Linked DNA regions of Homo sapiens: region 2 is linked to region 1. Evidence: promoter capture Hi-C in human tissues and cell types (Jung and others, 2019). All regions are on one chromosome and are shown on one strand. The core of a region is centred on a gene start or on the middle of the fragment in contact, and the rest is flanking DNA. Distances in the headings are between cores, read along the strand shown.

Region 1 (3,293 bases), core at 540-3,039:
ATTTACATCAGTTTAGTAATTCACCCCAGACCTCTGAATAATTGTTTCATGTGATCTACATGAATAGTGTATTATTACTCATTACCAAGTAATTACCAAGATAGTCAACAAGATATAGCCCAAAGGGAATTATACACAATAATTTGGGTGGTGGAGGGGGGTGGGGAGGAAGGAAGAGTTGGGAGTCACACAAAGGGATGTGATTCACCTGTAAAGGTTGAGGGTGGGGGGTTACAAAGTGGTCCTGGCAGAGAAATCACAAGGCCCAGGTTCCAGGACGACACTGGTAACTAGGAAGTGTGTGACCTTGTGCATGACGAGATGGATTATTTCAAAGATTGGATCTCATAGATCAAAAGAAGGGACTGTGCTGAACGCTCTTTCAGATTCCTCCCACTGTCCAAATACCAATTGATATCTCCACTCTGGGTATGTGCCTTACTAGGTCCGGCTGGGGAAATTCGGCCTTCATTCATCTGATCTGGCACAGTGACCGAGCCCTGGGGCATGCGCCCGGCCTCATCTTTCACCTGAGGAGGCTCCTCCATGGCCGGGCGCCCCGCGGGTGAGTCGTACGGGGACGTGGCGCTTCGAAGTTTATGGGGAGCCTCGCACACCTCAAGTTGAAGGAACTGCTGAATCAGGGTGCCCCAATTAAGTCAGATCTTAGGCAATCCTATGGTTCCTTTACTCTCCCTCACCCTTCCTCCTACTCTGAAAAGAAACCGGATCGGCCTGTCCGCCCAGAGGTCACCTGGGAAGAGCAGAGTGATGTCACTCGGCTACCCCCAAAACTGCCTCCAAGGTACAAAAGAGCTGGAATATCTGTGCATGGTCCAAAGGGACGGCACACTCCGGAAGGTGACCCTTTAGAAGGTATTATTACCAGACTGCAGCCTCGGCCTCTGGGATGGGTGCGGGAGGAAGGTGGTGAGTTTCCATCATCCCGCTGCCTTGCCGCACGGCGGCCAGGTGCTGCTACACATTCAAACCCGACAGTTTGGCTTAGTGGGTTGCGAAAAAAGAACTCAAGGGGAGGAAGCACCTGCAGCCACCCAGGCCGAAGTTAGGGACCACTTCCCCAGAGTTACGGACGGCAACAACCAAGTCACGTCTGGAGTCACCTCTCTGGCTTCCGGCTCCGCAGGGCTTGCCCTCCCGAGTCACCCAGGCAGAGGCCGGGGACGCCAGTAAGGGGAAGGTCGGAGGGTCGGGAGGACAGTGAGGGGAGGCGGGCTGGAGGAGCCGGGATGGCGAAAGGTGGGGGGTGGGGTGGGAGGGTTAGAGGGGCCCGGGGCGCCGGGGCCGGGGTGTGTGGGTTGTGGGCGAGGTGGCCGGGGCGGCCAGGGGGCGCGCAGGATACCCTACCTGTGGTGGAGAGCACGGTGCTGGCGAAGAAGAGCGCGGAGGTGAAGTCCCAGTTCCAGTTGCCCGAGGCGTTGCTGAGCACCGACACGCCGTAGTTGCTGGCCTCCAGCACCCGGCCCAGGAACTGCTCCAGCTGCTGCTCAGACAGGCACTCGTGCTCCTCCAAGAAGCGTCGCTTCAGCTTGCGCAGCTCCTGGCGCAGCAGGTCCTCATAGGGCAGCTCCACCGAGGAGAAGACCACTGCGCCGAAGACCAGGTAGAGCAAGTAGCCCAGCACCAGGAAGCCGAAGCACCAGGCCGAGCGGTGCCGCTCCACCAGGCGCACGCACGAGCTGCCGGCCAGGGACTGCAGCATCTTCTCCACCGCCGCCGCCAAGGCCAACGCCGCAGACCGGCCGGAGCGCGGCCCGCCGCCTCTTCTGGCCCCGCCGCCCCCGCCCCCGCCCGGGCCTGGCTCCCGCCCGCCGCCCGCTCCCCCGCGCGCCCGCCCGCCCCGCTCCTCCGGGCAGCGCCGTCTTCCTGCGATTGGCTCTCTCGGGCGATGTTTTTCTTCCTTCTTTTCCTGTTTCCTTGCAATATAAAAAGCCCAGATGATGTGGCGCTGACGTGGTTGCCGGCTCAGGTAACCCGAGAGTCAGCGGAGACCGCGCGCAAACTTGGCCAGAGCGCCTGGGCTGGGCTGCCGGGGCCCGGGACGCACCGCCTTCTGCGCACTCCAGAGGTGGGGCGGGCGCTCGGTGGCGCCCAGACCCCGACCCGACAGCCACCAGCTCCTCCCGCTCCCTCCCTTCCTGGGTCCAGTAGCCAAACTCTAGCTGACCGCGCGCGGCGTGTGCGTGTGTGTGTGTGTGTGTTCGCGCGCGTGTAGTGTGGGCCGCTTCTGGTCAATGCGCTGGCCGTCCAAGCCCCCTGTCCAAGCTACTCTTGTTTCCCACTTATTTTCTCCCAATCAAAGCCAGTATTACAAAACAGCAAGCGCTGAAGTACTTTCCTTCTTTGTCTTATTGGTCGAAGGATTGAGCAATCTGGTGCCAGTAATGACGGTGAAAATACCAGAACATCAGAGTTGGAAGGCTCCTTGAATCAGTCTCCTCTCTCCCACCCATCCCCCTCACAAAAAGGACTTGAGGGAAAAGGAGAGTCTCAGAGAAGTCCTATTTCTGAGTTCGAATTTTCTAAAACATGACCTTAGGTTTTTTGGTGAAAAAACATCCCAAATGTGTCAACTGCCAGAAGAAACTGAGCTTTCCCAACTGTCACTTCTTTTTAAAGTGACAAAAATGTGGGCGAGGGTCAGCGAGCCGCCTGCTTGTGGATGAAAATAAAAATTGGTACACCCTTTCTGGAAAGGCAATTTAGCGACACGTCTCAAGAACCTTGAAAGGGTTTATTTGTTCTGATTCAGTGATATGTCCTAAGAAAAAACAATCAGAGAGGCACTTACTTACAAAGACTGGTCATAGACGGTATCTATATATACATACATGTAGTTGTATAATATAGTGCATACACATGTGGGACACACACACACACACACACACACACACGGTATAGATGAAATAATGAAGACTCAGAACAATCTAAATATTCCAAAATAGAGAATGGTTAAATAAGTTATGGCATCTCTACAGCATGGACACCATATAGACATTAAACACATTAAAGTTGTGTCTAAAGACTATTGAAGCAAAACTGTGTAGAATCTCAAATATGTAAAATATTTGTATTTTGTTACAAAATAAAATGACATCTGCATTATTAATCAACTGCATAGGAATAAAACTATCTCCTTGCAGTTGTCTTTGGGTAATAGTAGAGTATATAGATGACTTTCCTTTCTTGTACCTTTTAATATTTTTCAAATTTTCTACAGTGGATATATATTATTTTTGTAATCAGGAAAAACATTTAAAATACACAAAACT
Region 2 (3,300 bases), core at 514-3,013, 280 kb before region 1:
GAATAGCAGCATGGGTGTTACCATCCCTGTGATTCAATTACCTCCCACCGGGTCCCTCCCAGGACATGTGGGGATTATGAGAGCTACAATTCATGAAATTTGGGTGGGGACACAGCCAAACCATATCCTTCTGCCCTGGCCCCTCCCAAATATCATGTTCTCACACTTCAAAACACAATCATGCCTTCCCAACAGTCACCCAAAGTCTTAATTCATTCCAGCGTTAACCCAAAAGTCCAAGTCCAAAGTCCACCTGAGAAAAGACAAGTCACTTCTGCTCACGAGCCTGTAAAATCAAAAGCAAATCAGTTACTTTCTAGATACAATGGGGGGCATTGGGTAAAAACACCTATTCCAAATGGAAGAAATTGGCCAAAACAAAGGGGCTACAGGCTTCATGCAAGTCCAAAATCCAGTGGGGCAGTCAAATCTTAAAGCTCCGAAATGATCTCCTTTGATTCCATGTCTCACATTCAGGTCACACTGATGCAAGAGGTGGGCTCCCATGGCCTTGGGTAGCTCTGCCCCTGTAGCTTTGCAGGGTACAGCCTCCCTCCATGCTGCTTTCATGAGCTGGTGTTGAGTGCCTATGGCTTTTCCTGACACATGGTGCAAGCTGCAAGCTGTTAGTGGATCTATCATTCTGGGGTCTGCAGGATGATGGCCATCTTCTCACAGCTCCACCAGGCAGTGCCACAGTGGAGACTCTGTGCGGGGACTCCAATTGCACATTTCCCTTCTGCACTGCTCTAGCAGAGGTTCTCAATGAAGGCTCTGCCCCTGCAGCAGACTTCTGCCTGGAAATCCAGGTGTTTCTATACATCCTCTGAAATCTAGGTGGTGGTTTCCAAACCTCAATTCTTGACTTCTGCGTACCCACAGGCTTAACAATATGTGGAAGCTGCCAAGGCCTTGGGCTTGCATCCTCTGAAGCAATGGCCTGAGCTGTACATTGGCCCCTTTTAGCTATACATAGGACACAGGGCACCAAGTCCTAAGGCTGCACAGAGCAGCAGAGGGGCCCTGGGACCAGTCCAAAAATCATTTTTCCCCCTAGGCCTCTGGGCCTGTGATGGGAGGGGCTGCTGTGAAGACCTCTGACATGCCCTGGAGACATTTTCCCCATTGTCTTGGTGATTAACATTTGGCTCCTCATTTGTTATGCTAATTTCTGCACTAGGCTTGAATTTATCCTCAGAAAATGAGTTTTTCTTTTCTGCTGTATCGTTGGGCTGCAAATTTTCCAAACTGTTATATTCTGCTTCCTCTTGAATGCTTTGCTGCTTAGAAATTTCTTCCACCAGTTCCCCTAAATCATCTCACTTAAGTTCAAAGTTCCACAAATCTCTAGGGCAGGGGCAAAATGCCACCAATCTCTCTGCTAAAGCATAACAAGAGTCACCTCTGCTGCAGTTCCCAACAAGTTCCTTATCTCCCTCTGAGACACCTCAGCCTGGACTTCATTGTCCATATCATGATCAATATTTTGGTCAAACCATTCAACAAGTCTCTAGAAATTTCCAAACTTTTCCACATTTTCCTGTCTTCTTCTGAGTATCCAAACTGTTCCAACGTCTGCCTGTTACCCAGTTCCAGAGTCACTTCCACATTTTTGGATATCCTTATAGCAGCACCCCCACTCTCTGTGATACCAACTTACTGTATTAGTCTGTTCTCATGCTGCTAATAAAGACATACCCGAGACTGGGTAATTTATAAAGGAAAAAGCTTTAAGTGACTCACAATTACACAGGGCTGGGGAGGCCTCAGGAAACTTGCAATCATGGTAGAAGGGGAAGCAAACATGTCCTTCTTCACATGATGGCAGGAAGGAGAAGTGCTTAGCAAAAGGGGGAAAACCCCTTATAAAACCATCAGATCTCACGAGAACTCACCACTATCATGAGAACAGCAGCATGGGAGTAACTGCCCCCATGATTCAATTACCTCCCTTTGGGTCCCTCCCATGACTTGTGAGGATTATGGGAATTACAATTCAAGATGAGATTTGGGTGGGGACACAGCCAAACCATATCAAGACCCAATCCTTCTCCTGAGCTGCCTCCTGACTTGCACCCTGTAGCTGTTCTTTATCCATACCAGCCTCTTGGAGCCCATGGAATGTGCTTTACTTTCTCTTGCCTTCTGGGTAGTGCACAAGACACCCTCCCTGCCTGGGAAGGCCTTCCACCTCCCACCTCCATACCTTGTCAACTCCTTCACCTGCCTTGAATTTTCTGCTGAGACTGCCTCTCTCCAGGAAGGCTTTCCTGACCCTTCCCAAATTGGACCAAGTTTTCCCTTTATAACCCTATGATACTCTATAATTGCCTTTATAACCCTTCTCAGAGTATTATTACAGATTAAGTTACAGTGTTATTTGGTTAGTGCCTGATTCCCACACTAGGCTAAAAATTATATGAGGCAAAAATTCTTTTGCTTTCATTGTGACTCTGATATCTGATGTAATACCTGTGTAGGTTCTGCTAAAATAATTATTCGTTAAACAAATGAGGAAACGAGTAAAACTGAGGGAGACAGTAATTGGAAAATAAGCTATGTGAGGAATTAATTGCATGCAACTTTACAAAATTTATTTAGACTATCTGCTATTGTCAGTATCCACTTCTAGGTTAACACTAAATTCTCCATAAAAGGTTGGCATTGGGGAGACTTCAAATGTCCTCCCAGCCAATTTCCTCTGGGGCTTTAACCCAGACAGTATGTGTAGCAACCAACTGTCCTGAATTTTCTGAATCAGTTGTGATTTCAAATTCCCTGTTCCATTGTTTTCAAAGAGTATGGTCTTTGTCAGATAATATGTCACAATTTTTGGGTCAGAAAATATAGTTGCTGTGATATATTTCTCTGATATCTTATGTAAGGTATATGGGTTATGATAGGTAGGTAGGTAGATAGATAGATAGATAGATAGATAGATAGAGATATGATATATTTGGCAATGTCCCCACCCAAATCTCATGTTGAATTTCCATGTGTTGTGAGAGGGACCTAGTGGGAGGTAACTGAATTATGGGGGCAGGTCTTTCTCATGCTGTTCTCGTGATAGTGAATAAGTCTCACAAGATCTGATGGTTTTATAAGAGGATTTCCCCTGCACAAGCTCTCTCTCTCTCTTTGGCTTCTGCCATCCATGTAAGACGTGGCTTGCTCCTCCTTGCCTTCCACCATGATTGTGAGGCCTCCCCAGCCATATGGAGCTGTAAGTCCATTAAACGCTTTTTCCTGTGTAAATTACCCAGTCTCGGGTATGTCTTTATCAGCAGCGTGAAAATGAAC

The links. The method cuts DNA at HindIII sites, captures the fragments that hold promoters and counts their contacts. A contact is called where the count stands out against the background at its distance.
Region 2: a contact is called between a fragment that was not itself captured here and the fragment with the promoter of KCNK1 in region 1, in 1 of the 25 tissues and cell types used here (H1 embryonic stem cells).

The regions. Positions count from the first base shown.
Region 1 is chr1:233,612,602-233,615,894 of GRCh38, reverse strand. It overlaps KCNK1 (potassium two pore domain channel subfamily K member 1), which reads right to left and starts at 1,789. Exons shown (of 3, transcript NM_002245.4): 1 at 1,369-1,789. The coding sequence starts at 1,723. RefSeq lists enhancers at 763-822, 2,011-2,663 and silencers at 1,293-1,352, 1,693-1,762, 2,123-2,222. The HindIII fragment of the contact is 20,351 bases long and covers 1-3,293 here.
Region 2 is chr1:233,889,084-233,892,383 of GRCh38, reverse strand. No RefSeq gene overlaps it. Among named protein-coding and RNA genes, the nearest start is that of SLC35F3, 14 kb to the left of the region's middle. The HindIII fragment of the contact is 7,569 bases long and covers 1-3,300 here.